Regions from separate parts of the Homo sapiens genome. Here regions 1 and 2 are each linked to region 3. Evidence: promoter capture Hi-C in 16 types of primary human blood cells and fetal thymus (Javierre and others, 2016). All regions are on one chromosome and are shown on one strand. The core of a region is centred on a gene start or on the middle of the fragment in contact, and the rest is flanking DNA. Distances in the headings are between cores, read along the strand shown. Region 1 has its middle 160 kb from the start of C8orf48. Region 2 holds the start of LOC105379289 (a long non-coding RNA gene). Region 3 holds the start of ZDHHC2 (zDHHC palmitoyltransferase 2).

Region 1 (2,722 bases), core at 43-2,542, 3.4 Mb before region 3:
AGGAGGGGTTTGGCACACTGTGTTCCATCTCCCTTAGGGCAAAAAGCCTTTTTAATTTTCAGAGTTTCTTTCACATGGAGTGAGAGATACACAAACAATGTGTACATAGTATATATATTTAAGTATGCAGTTTTAGAGCTTTGGGACCTGACATGGTGCAAGCTGCTTAAGATCATTGACCACTTCTGGTATACTGCCCACAATTCAGGTGCTGAATTTTTATAGAGAAAAATAAACCTGGGGTTCATGGACCCAGGGGGGTTTCATGTTTAAATAAGATACATTATTGATAAAACATTCTTTGTAAATTTTATGTTACATTTTTGGTGCTTGAAACAGATTAAACTGTGTCCATTACTGAATGTTAAAATTACTTTATGGTTTAATCTGACAAGGAGGTCAGATGAGGTAGGTTCAAATCCTTTTTGTTGCTTCACATAATTGTTACATAATCAAGGACAAATCACTTGATCCCTGTGAGCCTCTTCTGCAAAACAGGGGTTTTCATGATCGATTGAGCTTTATTGAAAGTACTTAACCCAGTATTGGTGTAGGATGCAGGTAACACAAAGTAAGTAAGAGTTGATTTGCTGGCTTGTTTTACTTGTTTGTATACTTAAGAGCAAAATATTAGAAATTTTGATGCTGATATCATGATCACAGTAAGCAGAAACATTGAAAAGAGAACTCAACATACTACACTAATGCTTAAACATACTAACACACACCCAGAGAAGCTGGAAAGTTCTAGCCTGCACACCTGCATGCTAAGGGGTTGCCTGTGGGTTAACGTATTGATTTACTATGTGATAGGACTCTGTTAAACTGACAGCCTCTTGTCTGTCAGCAGTGTGCTTGAAGTCTCTGGTGCCACTGGAGAACTGTATCCACCCCAGAAGAAAAGCCACTCTATTAGGAGACACATTTGTTACAAACGCCTTCAGATTAGAGCCAAACACAAATTTATAAATGCAACAAACAATCACATATCTTAAAGATTTGCTTGCGTGTTTGGATGATATAAAAATTAATTGATTAAACAAAGGCAAAATGTTTTTAATCATACCTGACCAGCATCTATCTGACTTCAAAAGCATTTGTACGTTATTCTTGCCTTTTGGAATTTTGGACTCTAAAAGAAAGTCAGTGTGCCTATAATGTTAATTTTTGAAATTTAGAAAGCTTGGACTGTCAAACGTGGTTCAGAATATTTTATATCACAATTGTAGGGTAGCAATAATTTGCACATTCCAACTTTATTATTAAGTATGAAATAAAACTTATAGCATAATGCTTTATCCAGTTTTAGACTGCTATGTGAAGGTGGGATGGCTATCTTTCAATTTCCATTTTTAAAAAATTCAGCCAATTTATAGCTGTTCAAGTATAACACTTCTCACAAGAAGCTTTCCTTGGTGAGTGGCTAAATACATAGAAGTGTGAATGACTAATAATGCATATCAAAAAGTATCAAACAAAAAATGTTCCTTCAGTCTTTAATTATTGCTAGATAAAGATACATATTTAGCATTAAACTAAGTATACAATACAGTGTCAGCTTTTTAAAAGCTTTTTTGTTTGAATTTCTGTCCAAGTTTCCCTCTGGGAATGCTAAAGACCCTTGGCCCGTGTTTTGTACCAGATTTCCTTTTTTCTTTTCTTCTTTTTCTTTTCTTTTCTGTTTTCTTTTTATCTTTTTCTTTCCTTTTCTTTTTGAACTTCTGACCTTGTTCTTCCAATAATTATTGGAACTGTGCTGTCAACTGCATTTCCTGGTAAATCTCAGAAAATACACTGATTAACAAATTAAGGACATAAAAACCCAAGGCTTAGCAATGTGACTCCAAAATAAGCCTTAAGGCAGCTTTGAGGGACAAGAGGTAATGCGAGTTAATTTAACAACTGGACCTTTCAACTAGAGCCCCTACCTGTGGTTTCTTCAGTGGATTGAGTTTCTTCACAGCATATCAATATCAGAGTGGTTCCACTATGGTGGCTCATGGGTCCAAGCCTGAGTGCTCCAGTGGGCAGAGCAAAAGCAGTGCTATTTTTAATGATCTAGCTTCTGAAGGCACGCAGTGTCACTTTTGTTCCTTTATGTCTGTTCATTACTACTGAGCCACCAAGGCCAGTTCAGATTCAAAGATCAGAAGGATATGGCAACACCACCTGTTAGTGGGATGAGATGACAAAAAAATAATGGATACATTTTAAAACTGCCACAGGCAAAATGTATATCAGGAAATGGTCATAACACATGGTTAACTTGCATTATCAATATTGGGATTTGAGTAAGAAGATAAACATGGCATTGCAGCATAGATATCCAGGTTGGAATACACGGAGGTAACCTTGCAATTAATTCGTCATTGATCAGATTCTTACAGATGGGAATGCTGCAAGTCAGAAAATAGTTCAAAGAAGAAGATAAGACACCCTGAATATGGATAAATGATTGGATCTATCTGTGAACACAGTTCTGAGGGTTGTTGAGTTTTAAACATGAAACAGAGTTTCACAGACCTTTGAGTAAAATAAGAAAGGTGGAAGAATTGACTCCTTATTCAACCAACGTGGGGTAGACCAGCTGCCTTCCAAAGAAACCTGCCCTAGAACAGTCATGTTTGAGTTACAACGAGCAATTTAGTGACCACCGTGAAATTTCGTTAATGTGAGTCAGTTATGTGGGTTGTGTCAATTTTTGTTTATCATTTTCAGTTTT
Region 2 (2,700 bases), core at 167-2,666, 4.3 Mb before region 3:
ACTCTTGTCACCCAGGCTGGAGTGCAATGGCACGATCTCGGCTCACTGCAACCTCCGCCTCCCAGGTTCAAGTGATTCTCCTGTCTCAGCCTCCTGAGTAGCTGGGATTACAGGCACCTGCCACCATGCCTGACTAATTTTTTTTGTATTTAGGAGAGACGGGGTTTCACCATGTTAGTCCGGCTGGTCTCAAACTCCCGACCTCAGGTGATCCACCCGCCTCATCCTCCCAAAGTGCTGGGATTACAGGCATGCACCACCACGCCCTGCCAGAAGAACCCATCTTTTAACCCATTTTTGAGGTGGCCCCAGTGCTGCAAATATATTAATAGCTTAATACATTTTTTGGAGAGCCAAACAAATATGACTTGATGAGAAGTTTGCCATCTCTATCTCTTCATTAAGCCAGAGTAGCCACCCATAAAGTATATTTTGACAGAGGTTCTGGAATAAAGCCATGCCAGGGACAAGGGGTGAGAGGAAGCATCTGGCGGAAAGTCTCGCAAGTCCAAAATCTGTACAGCAAACCATCAGGCTGGAAATTCAGCAAGAGTTGAAGTTGAAGACCTGAATCCAAAATCTGCAGGCTGGACACCCAGGCAGTGTTTCTATATTGAAATCTTGAGGCAGAGTTTCTTCCTCTTTGGGATGCTTCAGTCTTTTCTCCTAAGACCTGATTGAATGAGGCCTACCCATATTATGAAGGGTAGTCTATTTTACTGAAAGTCTACTGATTTAAATGTTAAGTTTATTCTAAAAATACCTTCACAGCTACATCCAGTTTAGTGTTTGACCAAACATCTGGGTACCATAACCTAGTCAATTTGACATATTACATTGACCACAATAGAAGCTTCTACAATAGGAGATTTTACCCTAAGTTTACACTAAAAATGTAAAGAAGCTGAGCACAGTGGCTCACATCTGTTATCCCAGCACTTTGAGAGGCCTAAGTGGAGGTTACTTGAGTCCAGGAGTTCAAGGCCAACCTGGGCAACATAATCAGACCCCATCTCTAAAAAAAAAGAAAAAGAAAAACTAGTTAAGACTTTACATCAAGGACTCAACAGTAAAGACTAAGAACTTTATACTAATGTAAGACTTTATACTAAAAAAAAGCTTGTTTGTTTGTAATGGGGTTTTTAGATGTTACTTTTGTTCTCAATTACTGAAACTTTCAGGCATAAATTTGGGTTTTATAAATATTAGCAATTACCATGGGAGGGTCTTAACAAAATCATTTTTAAATGAATCCTTTACAAATCATTTAAAAACTTTTCTGCGAGGATTCTTGATGCTTCTATTCTTCTTCTTCAAATCAAAAAAACATCTACTGTCACAGACTTCGAACCATGCAGTATTTGCTTTGTGGATTGTTAGATCATAGAGAGTGTTTTCTAGTTTGATCAGAGGGTAGGGGGATTGGATATGCCTGGGGAAACTGAAGTTGAAAATGTGAGCCAGGTTGGGAGTTGAGTAGCAGGGCAAGAGTTTGGACTGGTTTGAAATGGGACGTTTAACTGATAGAACTGGAGATTGTTTGGCCTATAGGATTGGAGGGATAAACTTATTTGACAGCTATCGGCTTGTGGAGGACAGAATTTGAAAATCCTTCCACTAAAAGCACCTAGAAATACTGGCTAAAATATAATATATTTTTATTATCTAATGTAGACACAGTTCAGAAATGAACCTGGAACTAAAACCACAGTGAGAAGCTTTGAGCAGTGATGCTCTGGCTTCCAGAGGACAGGTTGTTAGTCTCAGCAATCTAGGAATCTGCTGATCTTCAGTTACCTGGGGCATCTCTGTTAATACGAAAAAGAAGAGGGGAGATGAATGAAGCCTTGAGTCTTTCTCAAATGGGAAGTTGGAACCAAGGGGCCTACATAAAGTCAGCACTTTCAAAGTACTGCTCCCTATTAAGAGCAAAGACTAGAAACAAATCCACTCCAACAGAAAGACAACAAAGAGACAGGTAAGTCTTGTTCCTTCTGCCATTAGGTCAGAACCAGAGTTCCCAAAGCAATGTGTTCTCTATTATTTGACAATGAATTTCCTTCTCTTGCTTCCTATGCAGAAAACCAAAATCGAGACACAATATTTATCTGATATTAGTGCTCCACATTCCTCCAATATGTATCTCTCATTATGACCAGAATGACTTCCTCATAGCCAGTTAAGCAGACTGCTCTTCCTAGATATAAACTCTCTGGGATTAGAGGACAAGAGTTTGCTCAGTGTGCTAGCCCCCATTTCAGCATCTTTGTGCCTGAACATCTTGTCCTCTGGTGGCTTTGGATAGTCAGCTCACCACTTATTAGAAATATACATTCTGCTGAGGTGATTTATATACATTATCCTTTCTAATTTTTCAATAACCTTGAAAGGTAGGTATTATCAGCTCATTTTAAAGACATTAACACTTAGATTCAAAAAACACATTGCTAAAAGCTAGAAAGCAGTGGAGCTGGATTTAAATGTGGATCTATCAAACTTTTAAGCACATGGTTTTTCTACTATGAGCTATTAGCGCTTACATATTCTTTGCAGAATATAAAATCCAGCTCAAACCTTCTCATCTTCAATCAGAGGTATGCTGGAGCCAGCTTGTGGCAGCAAATGAGCATCTTTCCCAACTCCACTTTCAGTGACTTCACGTTGGTAACTTGTAATGAGCCACTGTAGAATTATTTACAC
Region 3 (2,794 bases), core at 295-2,794:
CTGATTTGCTTCTCTTTGTGAGGGTATTTCAGTCCCAGGAGGAAGTTTTAATTCCTGTTTTTTACTCTCTTCTGATTGGGGGGGAACACAGGATTAATATTCATGGAAAACATTAAGGAATCCAGAGAAGTTTTATTTTTACATTAATATACAGAATATCCACAGAGAATATAAAAGGCTACAGCAAAATCAAGTGATTCACTGGGACATAATATGTCTCTCTTTTCAATTATTTAAAGTCCCACAGAAACTTGACTGACATTTTCTATGCATTTTTGAAGAGAAATGGAAAGAGATGTGGGGTGGGGGGCTGTAACATAGTAGCTATTTCGGGAGAGATTAGCTTGTTGTGTAATCCAGTCACAGAAAGATAATCGCAGACACCAGAGCTAAATTTCTTTGACTGAATTCATGTAAATCAGTATTTTTTTTTTACTTCTACACATGAATAAGAAGTAATTTCATTCACTGTGGTTGCTGTGTGGTGTAAATACACATATTCACTAATGTTAAGAAAAATTGTGCCTATTATGTATAGTAGTGATGCACATAATTTACACACACTCATTGATTGAAATGTTTCCCTGTGGATCAGGTGCGTTCATAATCAGATGAAGGAAAAGCAAAGGAGGCATTTGTTTATTTTCCATTTCGTGAATCATAAAATCAGAGGTTTGGGCTGACTACCTTTAGGTTCCCTTACGGTGTTTTTTGGGAACCGCTTTGGAGTCAGCTATCTGCTAAGTTTGGAATTGCCACCACGAAAGTAAACACCGTAGTGAGGAGCGGGTTGAGGAAAAGAATAAATAGTTGGTGGAAGGAACCACCGTACTTGAGGGAGGGGACAGTGGGAACGGCCCCTGTCACAATCATTTATCCAAAGCATCAACATTCTCAGAGCAAAGAACTTGTGTTTCTAACTCCAGAGGTGCCTGGATTCACAGCCAAAAATGCTTCTTCCTCGCTCTCCACAGCCCCTCCCATGCCAGACGCCGGCTCGGCACCCCCTCTTCGCTGTGCATTTCTGCTTCCCCCGAAAGCCCGAGTAGTAAAGGGAGGCTCCTTGCGGCCCCCGCGGGCTCCCAGGGACCCGCAAGTTGAAGCGCGAGGGTTCCACGCGGGCTGCGGGGACGCGGGCCTCGGTGCTGCAGACTTTCTCAGGGCGCCTGGGTCGCGGCAGGCGCGGAGTCCCGAGCGCAGCAGCTGCTCCGCCGGCCTCGCCTCCGACCCCCGCCCTGCGCCAAGCGCGGAAGCGCTCGCGACCTAACTGCCCCGGGTGCCGGGCGCCTAGGGAGGGGCCGCCACCGCCCGCTCCGCCCCGGGGGCCTGCGCCCAGCAGCCCCCGCCTCCCCGGAATCCAGAGGCCGAGCCGGAGGCGGCGGGGCCACGGTGGGAGCCCGCGAGGTGGCCCGAGCGAGGGCCCCGCATCCCCGCAGAGCCCGCCCGAGGGCGCAGCCTGCCACGCCAGGGGAGGCGGCCGGGCGGCGGGGAACGGCGGGGGCGGAGCGCAGCCTCCCGACGCCGCCGCCTCACCGCCCCCCTCCGCCTCCTCGGCCTCCGCTCGCAGCCGCCGCCTCCGCCTCCGCCGGGCTGAGGAGCCGGGAGTCCGCCGCGCCGGCTCGGGGCTGCGGGATGGGGAGTTAGCGCCACGGCGGCGGCAGTGGCCGCAGCGCACCCCGCCGCCGCCCAGGAGCCCGTCCAGCCAGGGGTGCCGGGCCCGCCCAGCCCGCCCCGGAGCCAGGCCCGCGGGCGGCGGCGGAGCTGGGCAGGTGGATGCGGCTGGAAGATGGCGCCCTCGGGCCCGGGCAGCAGCGCCAGGCGGCGGTGCCGGCGGGTGCTGTACTGGATCCCGGTGGTGTTCATCACCCTCCTGCTCGGCTGGTCCTACTACGCCTACGCCATCCAGCTGTGCATAGGTGAGTGCGCCCCCCGCCGCGGCGCCCCCAGCGCAGCGCAGCCCACCCCGACTGTCCCGGGACGCTCAGCCGCTCCTCCGCTCTCGCCCCCCGGATGCGCCCCGGGCGCTGCCAACCTGCCGCGTCCCGCCGGCTCCGCCGCTAAAAGCAGCCTCGGGGCAGCTTCTTCCACGCGCACGCCCCTCGCCCTCCCCTCCCAACTCTCGGGTTAAGGTGGCGCCTCCGCCCCGCACTCGCCGCCGAGCCTCCCGCCGCCTTCCGCTCACCGCCGCCGCCTCGGCCACACCCCCTAGAGGGGCGGAAGGTCCCCGGGACCGCTGTGGAGAGGGGAGGCCGAGGCCGGCGAGGCGCGCCGGGGGCTGAAGGGCTGAGCTGGGCCCGGCCCCGAGCTGCGCCAGACCCGCGCGGGGGTGCTGGCCTTGGCGGCGGAGCTGGATCCCTTGCTGGTTGGCGTCAATGCACTTGTTAAAAATTTGTGACAGCGCTCAGGGGCGTTTTTGCTGCCTTTATGATTTGAGGATTGCCAGTTGGACACTTTTCTAGTTTAAAAGGATGTGGAGGAGGTGAGCTACTAGAAAGTATTTTTGAGGACATGTGCAACACACTAAACCATAATTTAGGTGTTTGAACAGTAGGGAGAGAAAAAAAGAGGTGATCGTCTGAGGTTTTTACATCCAGAGAGCGAAGTGGCTCCAGTCCGAGTTCGAGGTTCCTGAATTGGTGGGTAGGATACTTTTAATGCTGAAGATTAAAATTTTTTAAAAAGTTGATTATTATGCACAAGTAGGGAGTACAATGATGTCGCTTAATGTAAGCTGGTTTCTACCTTCAGGGGTTTTATGAAAACTGATCTGGGTTATCAGAAAAAGATGTTAAAA

Evidence for each region. Contacts are between HindIII fragments. The CHiCAGO score rates a contact against its expected background, and 5 or more counts as called.
Region 1: a contact is called between a fragment that was not itself captured here and the fragment with the promoter of ZDHHC2 in region 3, in 5 of 17 cell types (naive CD8 T cells, total B cells, naive B cells and 2 more). The highest score is 9.9, in naive CD8 T cells.
Region 2: a fragment that was not itself captured here is called in contact with the fragment with the promoter of ZDHHC2 in region 3 in 2 of 17 cell types (naive CD8 T cells and total CD8 T cells); the score reaches 10.2 in naive CD8 T cells.

The regions. Positions count from the first base shown.
Region 1 is chr8:13,723,793-13,726,514 of GRCh38, forward strand. No RefSeq gene overlaps it. Among named protein-coding and RNA genes, the nearest start is that of C8orf48, 160 kb to the left of the region's middle. The HindIII fragment of the contact is 224 bases long and covers 1,181-1,404 here.
Region 2 is chr8:12,864,019-12,866,718 of GRCh38, forward strand. LOC105379289 (a long non-coding RNA gene) reads left to right here and starts at 1,448. Exons shown (of 3, transcript XR_949509.3): 1 at 1,448-1,978. The HindIII fragment of the contact is 599 bases long and covers 1,118-1,716 here.
Region 3 is chr8:17,154,938-17,157,731 of GRCh38, forward strand. It overlaps ZDHHC2 (zDHHC palmitoyltransferase 2), which reads left to right and starts at 1,545. Exons shown (of 13, transcript NM_016353.5): 1 at 1,545-1,916. The coding sequence starts at 1,787. RefSeq lists a silencer at 1,004-2,363. The HindIII fragment of the contact is 4,757 bases long and covers 1-2,794 here.